3 separate regions of the Homo sapiens genome follow, and all the other regions are linked to region 3. The links are contacts of gene promoters, found by promoter capture Hi-C in blood cells and fetal thymus (Javierre and others, 2016). All regions are on one chromosome and are shown on one strand. The core of a region is centred on a gene start or on the middle of the fragment in contact, and the rest is flanking DNA. Distances in the headings are between cores, read along the strand shown. Region 1 has its middle 61 kb from the start of VSTM5. Region 2 has its middle 84 kb from the start of HEPHL1. Region 3 holds the start of GPR83 (G protein-coupled receptor 83).

Region 1 (3,129 bases), core at 119-2,618, 490 kb after region 3:
TGCTGGAACAACTAGATGACTGTAAGAGAAAAAATGAACCTGGAACCCTATCTCACATAATATACAAAAATTAAATCAAAAGGAATTATAGACCTAAATGTAAGAGCTAAAACTAGGAAGTTTTAGACGAAAGTATAGAAGCAAATATTTGTAACCTTGGATTAGGCAATGGTCTCCCTACATAAGGGACCAAAAGCACAAGCAACAAAAGAAAAAGTAAATAAATTATACTTCATCAAAATTGAACAATTTTGTGCTTCCAAGGACACTGTCAAGAAAGTGAAAGGACAAGCCCCAGAATGGGAGAAAATATTTGCAAATCATATATCTGATAAGGAATTTGTAACCAGAAATCAAATACAGTTCTTTAACTCTTACAACAATAAAAAGACAAATAATCCAATTTTTAAAAATGCAAAGGAAATAGACATTTCTCTCAAAAAAAAAAAAAAAAGATATACAAGTGGCCAGTTACCATATTAAAAGATGCTCAATATCATCAACCATTAGGGAAATAAAAATCACAACTGCAATGAGATAATACTTCATATCCTCCAGGATGGCTAAAATCAAAATGACAGACAATGACAAATGTTAGCAAGAATTCAGAGAAATCGGGACTTTCACACACTGCTGATGGAAAACTTTGAAAAACAGTTTGGAAGTTTCTCAAAATAAAAGTGGCAATTCCACTCCTAGGTATCTATGCAAGATAAATAAAAACATATGTTTACACAGGAACTTGTACACAAATGTTCATAGAAGCATTATTCTTAATAGCCAAAAAGCAGAAACAACTCAAATGTTCATCAATTGATGAATACATTTTTAAATGTGATATATTCATACAATAAAATATTATTCAGCAATAAAAGGGAGTAAAGCACTCGAAAGAAAGAAAGAAAGAAAAGAAAAGGAAAGAAAGAAGGAAGGAAGGAAGGAAGGAAGGAAGGAAGGAAGGAAGGAAGGAAGGAAAAAGAAAGAAAGAAAGAAAGAAAGAAAGAAAGAAAGAAAGAAAGAAAGAAAGAAAGAAAGAAAGAAAAGAAAAGAAAAGAAAAAGAAAGAAAGGTTGCCAGATGCTCGGGGGATGGAGATTGATTGCTAACAAGTATGGGGTTTTTTTTAGGGTGAGGAAAATATTCTAAAGTTAGTGATAATAGTTGCATAAAATTATTAATACACTAAAAACTACTGAATTGTATCCTTTTTCATTTTCACTTTTTTTAGAGACAGGGTCTGCTCTGTTGTTGGAGTGCAGTAGCCCAATCATAGCTCACCACAGCCTTGAATTCTAAGGCTCAAGTGATCCTCCTGCCTCAGCCACCTGAATAGCTGGGATCACAGGCACAAACCACAAAGCTCAGCTCTGCAATGTATATTTTAAAGAATGCATTTTCTGCTATGCAATAAAACTGTTATTGTGGGGGATGGGGGGAGGAAAGGAAAAGCACTGGACTAGGAGTCAGACACGAGTTCAAATCCCAGCTCTGTACTTTCAACCTTGGGCAAGTCACACTGCCATTCTAAGTTCCTCCTCAGCCCCTTATATATGACACTAGATCCTTTGTAGGAGAGTGTGTGCCGAGGCCTAACTCAGAGAGGTTACTCAGTGCATCTTATTTTCTCTCTTCCATCTTCTGTCATCTGAACCCAATCTTCCCTCCTGGATAACAGAAAAAGGCGTCCCATCTCCCCAGAGCATGGACGATCTTTATAACCATTCACCCAGGCTTGGCACTTACTAGTAGCCATTCAAAACTAAAGATAAGAGAGATAAAAAATTAACTAAAAGACAAATTCATAGAGACATAAAGTAGAATAGTGATTACCAAGGCCTGGGGAAGGAAGGCAATGGGGAGTTGCCATTTAATAGGTACAGAGTTTCAATTTGGGATGATGAAAAATTTTGGGAGATAGATGGCGGTAATGTTTGTACAACAATGTGAATATAATTCATGTTACTGAATTGCATACTTAAAATAGTTAAAATGGTAAATTTTATGTATATTTTACCACAATAAATATTCATTAATTTAAAATGTGTCTTTAGGCCAGGCACAGTGGCTCACACCTGTAATCCCAGCACTTTGGGAGGCTGAGGCAGGAGGATCACTTGAGGTCAGAAGTACCAGACCAGCCTGGCCAACATGGTGAAACCCTGTTTCTACTAAAAATTCAAAAATTAGTCAGGCATTGTGACATGCGCCTGTAATCCCAGCTACACGGGAAGCTGAGGCAGGAGAATTGCTTGAACCCAGTAGGCGGAGGTTGCAGTGAGCCAAGATCATACCACTGCACTCCATCCCAAAAAATTTAAAAAATTTAAAAATTAAAATTAAAATAAGTAAAATGTATCTTTAATTAAAATACACTATTAATCAAAAATAATTTTATTCAAGTCAGCCCCACCTAGTGAGAGAATGTAGCTGAATGAGTAACAGGTAGGCTACCTGGCTCTTAGGAAGGAATAAGGCAACGAGAGAGAAGCCTCTGGATTCGCAGGTTACAAGCTGGGGAAGTGGGTGAGGGCAGAGGTGATTCTGCTTTGATGAACAGAAATTGGGGAGAAACACTATAAAAAGAGTTCAGGTCCTTGTCATAGACTGTGCTATCATAGTACATATCATTTCATCCTGTTAGCATGACAAATTGAATCTCAATACTCTTTCTCCAGTTTTCCTGGGAGATAAAATATGCTAACCTATCCAAAAAAAATACTCTCCAGGAAAATCCACTAACACCGAGTCCCCCATAAACCACATCCAATGCAAAGGGAAGCATGAAAAAACCCGTAACAGCCTTCTACCCAAGGACTAGGGTGGGCAAACAGAAGCTGGCCAATCTCTCCTTTGTTGATAACCCAATAAACACCCTTCTTATCCTTTTAAAACTGGTATTCAGTTTAGGAAGAGATCATTTGGGTTGAAGCTTGCAGATGGGCCAGAGGAGGACTGAAATGGGCTGTGTGAATTTTTACAGTAGACCTGCATGGATGTCTTTGGGGCTTCCCTCATTCTTGGAGCACCAAAATATTTGCAACTTTTTTAAAAATTAGAAAAAGCTGCCTTATTTATTCTCGATGCATTTTTCCAGGAAGTTTCCAAAGCAGTCTTCCATTCATTCATTTAT
Region 2 (3,321 bases), core at 800-3,299, 460 kb after region 3:
AATTGAGGCTCAGAGATGGCTGTCTGATATGAGGCAGATACAAGGCTCAAATCTGAACTTTTGACTCCAAGTCAAAGGTTTCTTCTGTGGAATTTCACTGCTGGTCACTTAGATGAAGAGAGAAAGACCAGTACAGAGAAAGGAATTCGAGGGTACCGTGATGTGGTTGGAGCAGTAAGGGAAGGGCTTTGGACAACAGGGACTTGAACTGGATACGTGGGAAAGAGAGGTTGTCCAGGCAGAAGGAACAGCAGGGGCAAAGGGAGGAAGCAGGAGCTGGCAGGGCCTCTGAGAGCCACCCTAAGGGGGCCAGTGACTGGGACAGTGGGGTAACACAGGCAGACCTGGGAGTAGAGAAGCCCTTCTACCTGTGAATTTCAATGGATGAACACTCACACAAAGCTAAGCTGAACCCTGGTGCCAAAGTGCCCTTGACCCAAACATGGTATGAGCATCCTTTTGCCCTCCACCATATTGTAAGGGCACATTCCCTACGCTAGGATGGTTGTAAGGATTTACCATAACTAATTTTTTTTTCCTGGAGACAGGGTCTTGCTCTGTCACCCAGGCTGGAGTCCAGTGGCACAACCATGGCTCACTGTAGCCTTGACCTCCCAGACTCAAGCGCTCCTCCTGCCTCAGCCACCTACTAACTGGGACTACAGAAATGCACCATGATGACCAGCTAATTTTTTAAATTTTTAGCAGAGATGAGGTCTGACTATGTTGCCCAGGCTGGTCTCGAACTCCTGGGCTCCTGTGATCCTCTGCCTTGACCTCCCAAAATGCTACTACAACAATTAAGAAGAGCATCCTTACAATGGAAACAAAAGTAGCCATTAAAAAGGAGGTTGAAAGTGATAAGGAAAGAACAAATACTATACATCCTAATGTCTGAGGCATTTGACAATACAAATGATTCTCAAAATCAAAGAAAATTCTGCCACATGTGAGAAGTGCTATAACTTTGCAATGTACAGCAGTCAGCTAGATATGAGAAAGAGATGAGTAAAATGCAAAGATTTTGAGTATGCAACTTGAGGATCAGCATGAACTCTAAATACACATTAGACTATTGTTGGAAATAGACTAGGAGTTTACTTATTCAATCATTCCATAAATATTTGTTGAGCATCTACTATGTGCCAAGAACCATTCTAGATACTGAGCATAGAGCAGTGAACAAAATCAAGTCCCTGCCCCCATGTAGTTTTTATTTTATAAGGAGAAATGGATGACAAACAACATATTTATTAGGTGCTGATATGTGTCCTGAAGAAAAATCAATAAGGACAACTGAGTTAAAGAGTACTGGTGTGAGAAGGCCCAAGGAATATTGGTGCTTGTGTTCAGTGGTCAGGAAGACCTCTCAAATAAGGTGGCTTTGATCAGACACCTAACTTCTTTGAGATCCGGAAGTTTAAACATGATGAAAACGCCATCAATGAAACTTTTTGTAAGTTTTAATTTTTTTAATTTTAATTTTAATTTTTTATTCTTTTATTTTTTGAGACAGGATCTCACTCTGTCACCCAGGCTGGAGTGCAGTGACACGATATTGGCTCACTGCAACCTCCACCTCTCGATCTCAAGCAATTCTCCCACATCAGCTTCCCAAGTAGCTGGGACCACAGGTGCACACCACCATGCCCAGCTAATTTTTTTTTCTTTTTACTTTTTGTAGAGATGGGGTCTCTCTGTGTTGCTCAGGCTGGTCTCAAACTCCTGAGCTCAAGCAATCCTCCCGCCTCAGCCTCCCAAAGTGCTGGGATTACAGGCATGAGCCACTGCACCCTGTCAAGTTTTAAATTTTAACTATTTATTTAACTTTTATTTAGTTAGAGAGGCAGTGAACTTATGCTGCAAGACACAGCAAATCCAGTAGGTTCTAGAAGGTAGGTCCCAAAAATGTCATCACGCTCAAGAGACCTGCATGTCAGTCGCGTGCACACCAGAACTGCCAAAGCTTTCTCAGACAGTTGCAGGAATCCTCAAAGAGCAAGGTTACCTGCTTGCCTTGCTCCTGCCTCATTCGACTGCAAAAGGAATAGAAATGCATCTCTTTTGACAAACAATGTGTAATAAAATAGTCACCCCTAATAGGCAATGAGTGTGTCTAAGTTTAAAGCTTACAATTAACTCACATTTCTATTAGGTAGAAATGATCTGGGAGATACAAACTTGAACTCTTTTTGTTCCTTTGCCTTTAAAACCTACGTTGTTGGTGAGCAGGTAAGGCATGGGAACTCATTTTCCTCTCACATAGCCCTTCACAGGACAGACACAGAGGCATCTGCTTTGCTTTACAGAGAACGCTGGTAAATCTCTGAATGCTGGGATTTTCAGGATCTGCCAATGAGCAACATGTGCTCTCAGCTTAGCCCAGAAGGAAAATTCTTTCCAATTTGGAGAGTGTTTTTCACGCATCATGCTGGCATCAGCCTGCCAGTCACTCTCATAATTCAAATCCAGCAGAGCAAAGCAAGCAAAGCTCAGAGGAAACAAACCAGCCCAGCCACAGCCCTCATGGCCTGACTTACGTGCTCTATCCCCAGGGAAGGTGGGTTGGCCCCTAATGAATCTCCCACAAGCCAAACTAAGGACTCTGAGCTAGACTGTTCTGGGAGGGAAATGAGATCTTATCCTTTAATTACTTAATGTCCCTAAACACTCTAAAATCCATCCTCTGTGCTGTTTGGACCACAAGCTCTGGGGTCATTACCTGAATTTCTGACTCAGCTTCACCACTCACTGTGTGACTGTGGGCAAACTGCTCAGTTTCTCCACCTCATAGGAATGTTAGGATAAAATGAAATTAAACAAAATGAGAACCTACTATGTGCCTGGCACATAGCTCAAAATAATGTTAGCTAGTGGTATTATTTCTGCCCTTTGTCTCTTGCCTGGACTATTGCAGTGGTCTCCTAATGGTTTTCTACCTCCAGTCCCCCGCTAAAGCCATCCAAAAAATTGTTGCCAAAGTATTCTTGAAGCACATAAATCTGATTCTAAAACCCTGCAGTGATTCCTCACTGCCCTCAGAATATATCTAGATTCACCTGCAGGGCATATAAAACCCTGTCATCTGACACCTCTGTACACCTGCACTATGCTGTTTGTTCAGCCCAGAATGCCGGTTTCTCACCTTGACCACCTGCTAAGCTCCTGCTCATCCCTTAAGGTTTGCCGTGAGCATCATTTCCTCCAACGTCTCCCTGCCAATCATAGTCAAGCATCTTTTTCTTTGCTTCCTGTGGAACATTCAGTATTGACTTTACGATGGCACTTAGTACACTGTACTGTCATTGTTAGCCTGGATTT
Region 3 (3,274 bases), core at 760-3,259:
AGCAGGGAATCAAAGTGAAGACATTAGTTAGGTGGCCCAGATTACAAATATGCCGGCTAGCAAGCACCTTCTGTGGTACTTGGAAGAGAGTGCTTGGAAGGGCACTGGCTACCTTTGATTTCTTTCTCTGAGCTTGACGCTGACTATTCCTCTTCTATCCATACACTCTTTGTTGACACTGGGCACAGTCAATTGACTAGGATTCTGTTTTCTAAATGACCATCATATTCCGGCCTTGCCTCTCAAGATGATGCCAGGTCATCTTGATGGAGCAGCAAGTCTACCTAAGCTTTTTTCTTTTTGAGACGGAGTCTCGCTCTGTCGCCCAGGCTGGAGTGCAGTGGCGCGATCTCGGCTCACTGCAAGCTCCGCCTCCCGGGTTCACGCCATTCTCCTGCCTCAGCCTCCTGAGTAGCTGGGACTACAGGCGCTTGCCACCACGCCCAGCTAATTTTTTGTATTTTTAGTAGAGATGGGGTTTCACCGTGTTAGCCAGGATGGTCTCGGTCTCCTACCTCGTGGATCCGCCCGCCTCGACCTCCCAAAGTGCTGGGATTGCAGGCGTGAGCCACCGCGCCCGGCCCCCAAGCTTTCAGTGTTTACAGGCAGTCTCTTGGTTTATTTCCTGGAGCTAAAGATGTATTATTTCATCGGCCTAGCACCTTGTCCCTTCTAGGATCTGTCACATAATCCCCTATTTCAGCCATTTAATCCTGTGAGACCTGCCAGGTCCTTCAGTATAATTGAGGGTTATCTGCTAGCCATCCTTTCCTCCAGACACAGTTGCTTGAAGAGTACATGTGAAGTGGAAAACTGGAGACAAGAGTAATACCTAGGTTTGAGTCATTGTTTGGGTCCCAGCCCAAGGACATTGCTCCCCAGGGCACGTTGACACAATGTAAAGAATCTACATGGTGTTTCCTGTTGGGGGTCAGGGGTGGTTACCAGTAGTCAACCAGATATTGCATGTCTTGCACCAGAGGGCAATGCAGTGAGAGATGTATACAGGGGTCTCTGAAAACCTCACATTTAGGAAAAGAAAGCCTTTTAACCAAGGCCAAAAATGTTAAATGGCTTGCCCAAGATTTCACAGCTAGGAAGTGACAAAGCTGGGATTAAACCCTAATTACAGAGCCCATGGTCTTTACTACAGGCTTGTGGGTGGCAGAGGACCCAGTGACTGGGAGAGTTTTCACAGTGGAAGTGAAAACGGGTGAGCAGGATAGCAAGGTTTCCTGAAGAAGTAGATGGGGAAGGAAAAACAGCATGGGTCATAATATCCCTTAAAGATATAGCTTCAAGGACTTCCATGGCAGAAAAATTCAAGTTACCCAAGAGGTGAGCACACAGCTAAACTTCTCTTTTCCTTCGCTTCTTTGATGGTATCCGAACTGCTTTGAAGAGTTTCCTTGAAAAACAAAGCTCCCCAGATTGCATTCCTGGGGGCTGTCAAAGAAACTGTAATCCTTTAATAAGCCCTCCAGCACCTCTGGTATCTGGATACTCCGGGGACTTGGAGAATCCTTAACGTCTCTATTTTTTGGTTTGCCTTTTTCCTGGGACCGCCGGGACGCAGCGATCCATTTCGATATTGAAACTGTGCCAAGGCTAAGGCTTAGGTGGAAACAAATGGAATATATCCTTGTCACTGACCCGGCTTTGCCAGCATGCCCCCTCATCATCCCAAGTGCCCCTGTGGGCTTCCTCCCACCTGCCTGCCCTGCTTCCTTTACAAGAGGCTAAGCCGACACCACGCGAGTGTGTACGCGCTGGGGACTGAGCCCCCGAAGCGAAGCCCTGTCGGAGGAGTTTCAGGCGGGAGTGGGAACGGCTGGGCGTGGGGTCAGCAACGGCGCCACCCGGTAGGGTGGGGGGAGCCAGGCTTGTCAGAGCCAGAGCGCGTCACCGTCGCCGCGAGAGACGCCGCGCTGCCCAATAGGCAGAGGCGCTCCCTAGCAGCCTGGTGGGAGCAGAGATATAAAAGTGCTCCAACAAACCCGGAGCTGGCGTGCCGACCGCGGGCTGGTGGCGGGCGGCGCGGTGCTCCGCGCGTCCGGGCTCCCTGGCTCCTCGGGACGGCCTTGTATGCTGTGCGCCCCGCACCCCGGCTGCGCGCTCCGATCCCAGCGGGAGGGGACGCCCGGCCCGCAGGCTCCCAGGGGAGGGGTGGCTCCTGCAAAATGGTCCCTCACCTCTTGCTGCTCTGTCTCCTCCCCTTGGTGCGAGCCACCGAGCCCCACGAGGGCCGGGCCGACGAGCAGAGCGCGGAGGCGGCCCTGGCCGTGCCCAATGCCTCGCACTTCTTCTCTTGGAACAACTACACCTTCTCCGACTGGCAGAACTTTGTGGGCAGGAGGCGCTACGGCGCTGAGTCCCAGAACCCCACGGTGAAAGCCCTGCTCATTGTGGCTTACTCCTTCATCATTGTCTTCTCACTCTTTGGCAACGTCCTGGTCTGTCATGTCATCTTCAAGAACCAGCGAATGCACTCGGCCACCAGCCTCTTCATCGTCAACCTGGCAGTTGCCGACATAATGATCACGCTGCTCAACACCCCCTTCACTTTGGTAAGGGGCCCGCTGCCTGCCGCCCCACCTTCTGTCTTCGTCTCCCTTTCCTCTCTCAGTTCTCTGGCCTCCCTCTGCCGTTCTGCGTCTCCCTGTGGGTCCCCACTTCTCTCTCCACATCTCTCTTCCTCCTCATTTCTCCTCTCCTCTGCCTCTGTCTTCCTGTCCTAGTCTCTTTTCTCCCTCCTCTGTCATCTCGGTTCTTGTATCTCTCCTGTTTTTCTTAGTCTTTCTTTCAGTCTCTGTCTCTCTCTCTGAAGTCTTTCTGTCTCTCTTCTCTATCTCTCAGTGTCCTCATCTTTTTTTTTTTTTTTGTCTTTCAGCCTCCCTATTCATCTGTCTCTGTCTCCTCACCTGTTATCTCTTTTTCTTCTTGTCAGTCTCTCTGTGATTTTATTTTTCTATTCTCTCTCCTCTCCTCTCCTCTCCCCACCTCTCCTCTCTTCCTCTCTCCCCTGCCTCACTCTCTGATTTCTCCCCACTTTTTTCTGTCTCATCGCCTTATCAGCCAGAGCTTCTGCGGCGGTGGCATTGGGTCAATGGTTTGAGTGTCTGCAGCCAGCTGGAAATGAATGACCATTTCCTGTTTAATCTCACTGGGTCTGGGCTTGCTTGATAATTGAGCAGTAAATCAATGCCCCTGAAATGTCAGCAGAGATGATCAGGTCCCCCTCCCTCTGAATTGCAGCCTGTTCAGTGCCCAGCCG

Evidence for each region. Contacts are between HindIII fragments. The CHiCAGO score rates a contact against its expected background, and 5 or more counts as called.
Region 1: a fragment that was not itself captured here is called in contact with the fragment with the promoter of GPR83 in region 3 in 3 of 17 cell types (M1 macrophages, M0 macrophages and endothelial precursors); the score reaches 7.5 in M1 macrophages.
Region 2: a fragment that was not itself captured here is called in contact with the fragment with the promoter of GPR83 in region 3 in 1 of 17 cell types (megakaryocytes); the score reaches 7.1 in megakaryocytes.

What each region holds. Positions count from the first base shown.
Region 1 is chr11:93,910,056-93,913,184 of GRCh38, reverse strand. It overlaps the pseudogene LOC101060084. Among named protein-coding and RNA genes, the nearest start is that of VSTM5, 61 kb to the right of the region's middle. The HindIII fragment of the contact is 3,124 bases long and covers 1-2,930 here.
Region 2 is chr11:93,935,846-93,939,166 of GRCh38, reverse strand. It overlaps the pseudogene LOC101060084. Among named protein-coding and RNA genes, the nearest start is that of HEPHL1, 84 kb to the left of the region's middle. The HindIII fragment of the contact is 162 bases long and covers 1,969-2,130 here.
Region 3 is chr11:94,400,154-94,403,427 of GRCh38, reverse strand. GPR83 (G protein-coupled receptor 83) reads left to right here and starts at 2,009. Exons shown (of 4, transcript NM_016540.4): 1 at 2,009-2,567. The coding sequence starts at 2,181. The HindIII fragment of the contact is 12,804 bases long and covers 592-3,274 here.